Regions from separate parts of the Homo sapiens genome. Here region 2 is linked to region 1. Evidence: promoter capture Hi-C in human tissues and cell types (Jung and others, 2019). All regions are on one chromosome and are shown on one strand. Each heading gives the region's core, a stretch centred on a gene start or on the middle of the fragment in contact. The rest is flanking DNA. Distances are from core to core; before and after follow the strand shown. Region 1 holds the start of SAMD10 (sterile alpha motif domain containing 10). Region 2 has its middle 15 kb from the start of NPBWR2.

Region 1 (3,260 bases), core at 1-2,500:
CTGCTTCCCGAGTGCTCTGATGCAGTCCGGAGACCTGTCTGTGAGAGTGGGACCCATGGTCCCCTCCCTCTGAACCCATGGCCCCCTCCCTCTGAACCAGCCCAGCTGCCCGCCCTCGCCCCTGGTGCGCCCTGTCCGAGCAGAGCTGTACCCTGTCCAGTTGTGTAGAGCTTGTGTGTACTGGTTATGGGCACACCTGTCTGTGTGCGTCCTGTGCGCACACTGCTGCCCTACGCTTTTAGCACTCATATTCTTGAACCCCCATTCAGGCATCTGTCCCTCCAGTGGGACTAGAGACCCCACCCACGCCCGCCAACATGCCTTGGACATTCTGGTGAGGGCCACATCCTTAGCTCCTGGAGAGCTAATTGACGAAATAAATAACCGCAGCTGAGCTGTCGGGAACACGTCAGTACATGAACATGGCTGTCAAGCATGTGGGTGAATTCTGTGTGTGTGATTAGTGGGGTGTGTGCACAGAGGTCACGTGTGCTCGTGTTTTGGGTGCAAGTGCATGACTGTACTCTGTGCATGCATTTCTACATGTCTGTGTGCATCTCTGGTCCTCCTGCTGTAAGACATCCTCCAGAGCCCCTACATACACCCAGGGAGAGCACCCAGGCTCCTGGGCAGAGCAAGCCGAATAGCTGGTTGCAAGCCTGGCCTGCTGCTGCACCAGGCAACCACAGTTCCCTAGCCCAGCCCCATCTCAGCACTTCTCACTGGAGTCCTGGAGCAAACACACCGCTCCGGCCTGCTACAGCCTCCTTGGAGTTCCCCTCTGCCCCATCTCCAGGCAAGCCAAGCCCCTTTCAGTTACAGAGCACTGTACCGCCCCCTCTCCCCCGGGCACTGAGCCAGGTTCTGGGGCTGCAGAGGGAAGGGAGAACCACCCTGATGTTCACAGTGGGGTGGGCGGTAAGCAAGAGTCAAGCTGGTTTCTCCGGGGAAGCGGGTGCCTATTTGAAGGCGAGTAAAGACGTAGGAGACCGAGGAAAGTGTGTGGGAGGCGTTGACCTGCCCCTTGTCCTGGCCCCGGTAGGTAGAAGACCCCTGTGAGATGCCCCTCAGCCCACCCCCACGCACAGAGGGGCCCGACCTCAGAGGACGCCCGGCAGGTTCACGGGGACTCTCCTCCGCGGAGCCGTGCCCAGGGGCGCACGGACGCCCCTCGCCCTGGCGGACAGCCTTGGTGCACGCAGGCCCGCGCGCCGCCGACACACCTCGGAGCTCCCGGAGCGCGCCCGGCACACAGGGCTCGGCGGCAGGTGCCTCGTCGCGCACACTCGCGGGCCGCGGGGACCGGCTCGGGCGCGGGGCCGGCTGGGGCGGGGCGGGGCGGCGGCGCGCGTTCCCCGCCGGCCACACCGGCCGCCCTGCACTCGGCGAGGGGCGTGTGCGCGGGCCTGGCACCCGCGGGCCCCATGTTCACCGAGCTGAGGTCCAAGCTGAGCCCCCCGCGTGGCCGCGCCGGGGCCGTGCGCGCGGGCTTCGGGGAGCGCCGGGATGTGGACGGTGAGCGGGGCTGGATTGGGGAGCGGGGATTTCTCGGGCGGGGGTCTCAGGGACCCAGAGGCACGGGGGCGGGGCGGGACCCGGCGGGCTTCGAGCGGCGGTGGCTGGGGGTATTCGGCGGATGTCTCGGCTCAACGGGGTCCCGTAGCCTTTGTCCTGCTTTAGGGGGCAGCCAGCCTCAGGCCTTGGGGGTCAGCGCGCCCTTGGCTTGGGGTGAGGGGGTGTCAAGCCGGGGCGCCTGTGTCCAGGCTGGCACTACGCTCGGGTCACCTTTTCCTGCGCACGGGGAAAACCCTCCCCCGCTTTTGCAGTGGGGCCGAAAGGGGGCCGAGGTCACATCCCGCCTCGGTGCCCCCGCCCCATTTCCTTCTGGAATCCTGACGTTGGGGCGGGAGGGACCGGACCGACAGACCGCGGGACGGACGGAACTCCCTCCGGGAGTGCAGGCAGGAAATGGGCGGAGCCTGCTTGGCCGGGGCAGGTGCCGTGCGGGCTGAGGAGTCCGACGGGTTTCCCCGGACTGCCGCGCGCTTCTGCACCAGCCCCGCCGCTCGAGGCCCTGCAAAGCCCGGCGACCACGGCGCCTGTCCGCTGGAAGGCGCGGGCTTAGAATAAGCCTTTTCCCACAGCACTAGGGGCCACCTCGGGGCGGTGGCCCACTGAGCACACCCTCTGCTGACCCCAGACCTCAAATTTGGAGTCACCCAGGGGTCCGGTTCCTGAAAGTTGCAAGAATGGGGGCGGAAGGTGTTATGTCTCCTAAGTCTTACAGGCGTGGGAGGACGGGGAAGTAGGATGTGGTTTTCACCGATACTTAGACCTCCTAGACACATCCCCAACCCCTGCCCTGGGTGTGGAGTGGGTGGCTGAGTCTGAGGCCGGGAGGGTCTCTCACTCTAGGGTGGATGGGATGAGGGCCCTAGCGTGGGAACCTCACCTGCCCTGCTGAAGGCCTGGGTGCTAGGGTGCTGTAAAGACAGGGGCAGGCCTGTGCCCACCTTCTGTCTCCCCACAGGCTCTGTTCACTTGCAGATACCATACAGAGCCTTCATTCATTCATTCATTGACAATGAATGTGGGGTGCCCCTCTGTAACCAGACCTGGATCAAGACGCCTGCCTCCCCAGACTCAGGTCAGCAGTGCCCCCAGAGATGATGACAAAGCTCAGATGAAACACTTTAATGCAGTTACTGTGGGAAGAGGGAGCACAGAGCATCACCGTGGGTCCCCAAGCAATGGCTGCACCCCACATACCTGTGCTGACCCGCCCATATCCAATGGGTACCCACCATTCACATGGCCGGTGTTGTCCCGGGCTGCAGGCCCTGTGGGGGGCGGCACAGCTGGAGAGCCCAGCGCGTGTTTGCGGAGTGAGCCCTGCTTGTCAGTTGGCCCACAGTTCAGGCTGTCAATGAGTCATAGTCAGTGAGTCGGGCCCCAACACCAGATAGGGCTGTGTGAACTGGGTGCCTTCAGTGGCGATGGGCAAGCAGCATCCTCAGCCCGGTTTCCCCAGCACAGACGACCTCCCCGGACTCGGGATCTGCCTTTCCTCAAAGCAGGCCGTGTGTGCACTTCCTGGTCTGGTGTGGTGTGTGCAAGACTTGTGGGCCAGCCCAAGGCAAGGGTGAGGTCAGGGCTGTCCCAGGATAGCTCCTCTTGTCATATGTCTCAGGTTCCCTTCCCTAGAGGGCACATCCTCTGATCTAAGAATCCATCCTGCTCCCCTGGGTGAGGGCTGTAGA
Region 2 (5,190 bases), core at 1,667-4,166, 140 kb before region 1:
ACTTGGGAGGCTGAGGCAGGAGAATCGCTTGAACCCAGGAGACAGAGGTTGCAGTGAGCCGAGATAGCGCCACTGCACTCCATCCTGGGCAATAGAGGGAGACTCTGTTTCAAAAAAAAAAAAAATGAAATCCTAAGGCCCCCACCAACTCAACAGACCCCCTCTTGGCCAAGGGAACCCCAGAAAACCTTAAAAACTGAATCCCTGGCCATGATGGGAAGGGAAGTTGGACACATCTCATCATACATCTCAGGCATTAATGTTAAAATAGATTTCATAAGACCAACAAAACAAACTATTTGTGACAATAAGATATCAAATTATAAACAGGACCTAAGGCTGTGCCAGACAGGAGTTAAGTCACACACCCCTATGGGTTAAGAAGCTTATATCTTAACTCAAAACATTCCTTTCTGCTGACTCCAATTTTTTAATTAAACTTTATACCTTTAACCAGTTGCAAATTAAAGAATCTCTGAATCAACATATAACCTGTACACCCTGCTTCAAGATACCCTGCCATTTGGGGCCAAACCAATGTCTACCTTCTATGTATTGATTTCTGTCTTTGCCTGTAACTCCTGCCTCTCTGAAAACTATGAAACCAAAGTATAATCTGACTGCTGGGGGCACACTTTCTCAGGACCTCTCAAAACTGTGTTCTCCAGGCTTTCTCAGGAAACTCGAAACTGTGTTCTCCAGGCTTTCTCAGGACCTCTCGAAACTATGTTCTCCAGGCTTTCTCAGGAAACTCAAAACTGTGTTCTCCAGGCTTTCCCAGGACCTCTCGAAACTGTGTTCTCCAGGCTTTCTCAGGAAACTCGAAACTGTGTTCTCCAGGCTTTCCCAGGACCTCTTGAAACTGTGTTCTCCAGGCTTTCCCAGGACCTCTCGAAACTGTGTTCTCCAGGCTTTCCCAGGACCTCTCGAAACTATGTTCTCCAGGCTTTCCCAGGACCTCTCGAAACTGTGTTCTCCAGGCTTTCTCAGGAAACTCGAAACCATGTTCTCCAGGCTTTCTCAGGAAACTCGAAACTGTGTTCTCCAGGCTTTCCCAGGACCTCTTGAAACTGTGTTCTCCAGGCTTTCCCAGGACCTCTCGAAACTGTGTTCTCCAGGCTTTCTCAGGACCTCTCGAAACTATGTTCTCCAGGCTTTCCCAGGAAACTCGAAACTGTGTTCTCCAGGCTTTCTCAGGACCTCTCGAAACTGTGTTCTCCAGGCTTTCTCAGGACCTCTCGAAACTGTTCTCCAGGCTTTCTCAGGAAACTTGAAACTGTGTTCTCCAGGCTTTCCCAGAACCTCTCGAAACCATGTTCTCCAGGCTTTCTCAGGACCTCTCAAAACCGTGTTCTCCAGGCTTTCTCAGGACCTCTCGAAACCGTGTTCTCCAGGCTTTCCCAGGACCTCTCGAAACTGTGTTCTCCAGGCTTTCTCAGGAAACTCAAAACTGTGTTCTCCAGGCTTTCTCAGGACCTCTCGAAACCGTGTTCTCCAGGCTTTCCCAGGACCTCTCGAAACTGTGTTCTCCAGGCTTTCTCAGGACCTCTCGAAACTGTTCTCCAGGCTTTCTCAGGAAACTCGAAACTGTGTTCTCCAGGCTTTCCCAGGACCTCTCGAAACCATGTTCTCCAGGCTTTCTCAGGACCTCTCGAAACCGTGTTCTCCAGGCTTTCTCAGGACCTCTCGAAATCGTGTTCTCCAGGCTTTCTCAGGACCTCTCGAAACCGTGTTCTCCAGGCTTTCCCAGGAGCTCTCGAAACCGTGTTCTCCAGGCTTTCTCAGCACCTCTCGAAACTGTGTTCTCCAGGCTTTCTAAGGAAACTCAAAACTGTGTTCTCCAGGCTTTCTCAGGACCTCTCGAAACTGTTCTCCAGGCTTTCTCAGGAAACTCGAAACTGTGTTCTCCAGGCTTTCTCAGAACCTCTCGAAACTGTTTTCTCCAGGCCATGGTCATTCATATTGACTCAGAATAAACCTCTTTAAAATATTTTACAGAATCTGTTTTTTTCCATTAACGTTATTGAGTTTTGAGAGTTCTTGATATACTCTGGATACAAGTCCTTTATCAAATATGTGATTTGCAAAAATTGTCTTACAGCCTTGGGCTTGTCTTTTCATTTTCTTAGCAGTGTCTTTGGAATAGCAGAAGTTCTTAGTTTTGATGAAACATCTTATTTATTTGATGGATTATGTTTTGATATCCTATCTAATAATGTTTTGCCTGATCTAAGTTTGCAAAGGTTTTCTTCTATGTCCTCTTATAGAAGTTTTATAATTTTAGCTTTTACATTTAGGTTTATGATCCATATTGACAATATTTTAATATAGTACAAGGTATGGATCAAAGTTCATTTTTTTGCATATGGATATCCAACTGTTTAGCATCATTTACTGAGAACAAAACTTGCCTTTATTGAATTGCCTTTGCAGCTTTGTTGAAAATCACTTGCTCATATTTGTGGGTCTATTTCTGGTATCTCTAATTTGTTCTATTGATCTGTCTATCTTGATGCAAATACCACACTGTCTTTTTTTAAAATATTATTTCTTTTATCATGATACTTCTCTTTCTTCTTTCTTTTTTTTTTTTTTTTTGACAGTGTCTCACTCCGTCACCCAGGCTGGAGTGCAGTAGTGAGATCTCAGCTCACTGCAACCTCCGCCTCCCAGGATCAAGTGATTCTCGTGCCTCAGCCTCCTGAGTAGCTGGAATTACAGGTGTGTGCCACCACGCCTGGCTACATTTTTTGTATTTTTAGTAGAGACGGGGTTTCACCATGTTGGCCAGGCTGATCTCAAACTCCTGACCTCAAGTGATCCACCCACCTCAGCCTCCCCAGGAGCTGAGAACTCTGGCAGGGAGACTCTGTGGTGTAGGAACCCCAGGTCTCCAGCCATGTCTGAAAAACAGTGTTAACCCACGGCTTCACCCCAGCTTTGAAACACCTGGGTGTTCTTCAGAAATACCTGCTATAGTTTGGACGTTTGTCCCCGAACCTCATGTTGAAATTTAATCCCCGATGTTGGAGGCGGGGCCTGGTGGGAGGTGTTCGGGTCATAGGGAAGGATCCAGAATGAATGGTTTAGTGCCCTCCTCATGGTGATGAGTGAGTTCTTGCTCTATTAGTTCCCACACGAGCTGGTTGTTTTAAAAAAATCCTGGCATCGCCCCTCTCTCTCGCCTCTTCTCTTACCATGAGACACCTCCCGCCATGAGTGCACGCTCCCTGAGGCCTCCCCAGAAGCAGGTGCCGGCACCGTGCTTCCCGTACACCCTGCAGAACCGTGAGCCAAACAAACCTCTTTTCTTTATAATGGCCCAGCCTCTATCCTTCTCCTCACCTAGGAAAAAGAAAAAGAAATTACCCAGCCTCAGATATTCCTTCATAGCAACACAAAACTAGGACAACACTGGTGCCCAGGCCCCAGCCCAGACCAAGCACATCAGAGCCTGGGCATGGGGGTGGAACCAGCTCCAGTGAGCTCCTGAAGTCCCCAGGGGATTCTGTGCACATCCAGGGTGGAGAACTTGGCCGTAGACAGTCCAGACAAAAATATTCTTTATACGATTAGCACAGAGTTGTTGTTTAAACTCAGTGGTAAGAACAGAACACAAGAGTTTTAACAGGAGTCATAGTTTTCACCATTAAGAATCTTTACCTACTATTGGAATCCAGGTACACACATTTACCCTGGGGTTTAATTTGCTGTGTAAAATTGACTTGGTTCTTTTACAAATTGCTGGCAAGTTGAGGTTGGGGCCACCACAAAACAAGTCTCTAGCAAGACAAAGAGCATAGTTGTGTGTTTGGGTCTCTCCACACCAGAATGGAGCTCCTTGTGGGCAGAGGCTGGCTTGCCCCTTGTCTTAGTCTGTTTCCTGCTGCTTATAACAGAAACTGGGTAATTTAAAAGAAACAAAATGTATTTCTTACAGTTCTGCGGGCTGGGAAGTCCAAGGTCAATGGGCCACATCTGGTGAGGTTTTCTTGCTGGTGGGAACCCCAGAGTCCCAAGGCAGTGCAGGGCGTCGCATGGTGAGGGGCTGAGCGTGCTGGCTCAGGTCTCTCTCTTCTTATAAAGCTACTAGCCCCACTCCTATGATAACCCATTAATCTATAAATAAATTAATCTATTCATGAGGGCAGAGCTCTTGTGACCCAATCACCTCTTAAAGGCCCCACCTCTCAATACTGCCACATTGGGGATTAAATTCCAACTTGAGTTTTGGAGGTGACAAATATTCAAACCACAGCATCCTTAAATCATCAGAGACTGGCCTGCCTGCCCCCATGTCCACTCGAAAATGAATGCCGCGCAAGCCCCCACCCCCACCCTACTGAATGGTCCCTTTTCCTCTGCAGCAGTTCTCGGAACTGGCCACTGGGGGTCAGGGTTGGTCCGCGTCGCACAGAACCTGGCTCAGCCAGGAGCCACAGGAAGGACCCTGTTCCTCTACCCCAGCCAAGGGAAAACGGCGGCCCCTCTGTGGTTCAGCAGAGCTAGTCCAGGAACAGTGGGGCTTCAAAGTGCTTCCCCTCCATGGCAGAGCCAGCGCTGGCCTGCTGGTCTCCCAATTCTTTGCCCAGGCTAAGAAGGGCGCACACACACACACACACACACACACACACACACACACTCTCTCTCTCTCTCTCTCTCTCTCTCTCTCTACCTCCGGGAAGTTCTCCCTGCCTGTGGCTTGCAGCTTGCTGCCGCTCACCAGCCTCCCGTCCTACTCACAGCTGACTTGAGGTCAGTGCTCCCTCCAAGCATCCACCTGAGCTGCCCAGGCCCAAGGCCGAAACCCCAGACCAGGTCCAGAGCAGCACGGGCAGGTGGGACCTCAGATGGGGCTGGCCCAACACGTGCAAGCCTCCAGCCTGAGGCAGGAAAATTACGATCCCCATTTGACAAGTGAGGAGACAGAGGCTCAGAGAGGTTGGGTAACTCACCCTGGGCCACACAGCAAGGAAAAAGCCAGTCCCAGACCTGTACTCCTGACCTCCACCTGGTCTGCTCCCCTCAGGAGACTATCTAGGCCACAGTGGCACCCTTGACTGGCCTGAGTTGGGAGCACAGGTCCACAGGGCTCTTTACCCGGTTCCACGGCAACAGTCCCCAGGCCACATACCTATGAGCACAGTTTGGACAGTGGAGCAGTCTCTGGCCCGACCACAGGCAGCACCC

What was found. Contacts are between HindIII fragments. The study calls those that stand out against the background at their distance.
Region 2: a contact is called between a fragment that was not itself captured here and the fragment with the promoter of SAMD10 in region 1, in 1 of the 25 tissues and cell types used here (heart right ventricle).

Annotation. Positions count from the first base shown.
Region 1 is chr20:63,977,632-63,980,891 of GRCh38, reverse strand. SAMD10 (sterile alpha motif domain containing 10) reads left to right here and starts at 1,250. Exons shown (of 5, transcript NM_080621.5): 1 at 1,250-1,515. The coding sequence starts at 1,425. RefSeq lists enhancers at 646-705, 1,301-1,816, 1,802-2,096 and a silencer at 1,136-1,455. The HindIII fragment of the contact is 26,934 bases long and covers 1-3,260 here.
Region 2 is chr20:64,119,812-64,125,001 of GRCh38, reverse strand. No RefSeq gene overlaps it. Among named protein-coding and RNA genes, the nearest start is that of NPBWR2, 15 kb to the right of the region's middle. RefSeq lists enhancers at 689-1,888, 4,292-4,586, 4,255-4,754. The HindIII fragment of the contact is 5,841 bases long and covers 1-5,190 here.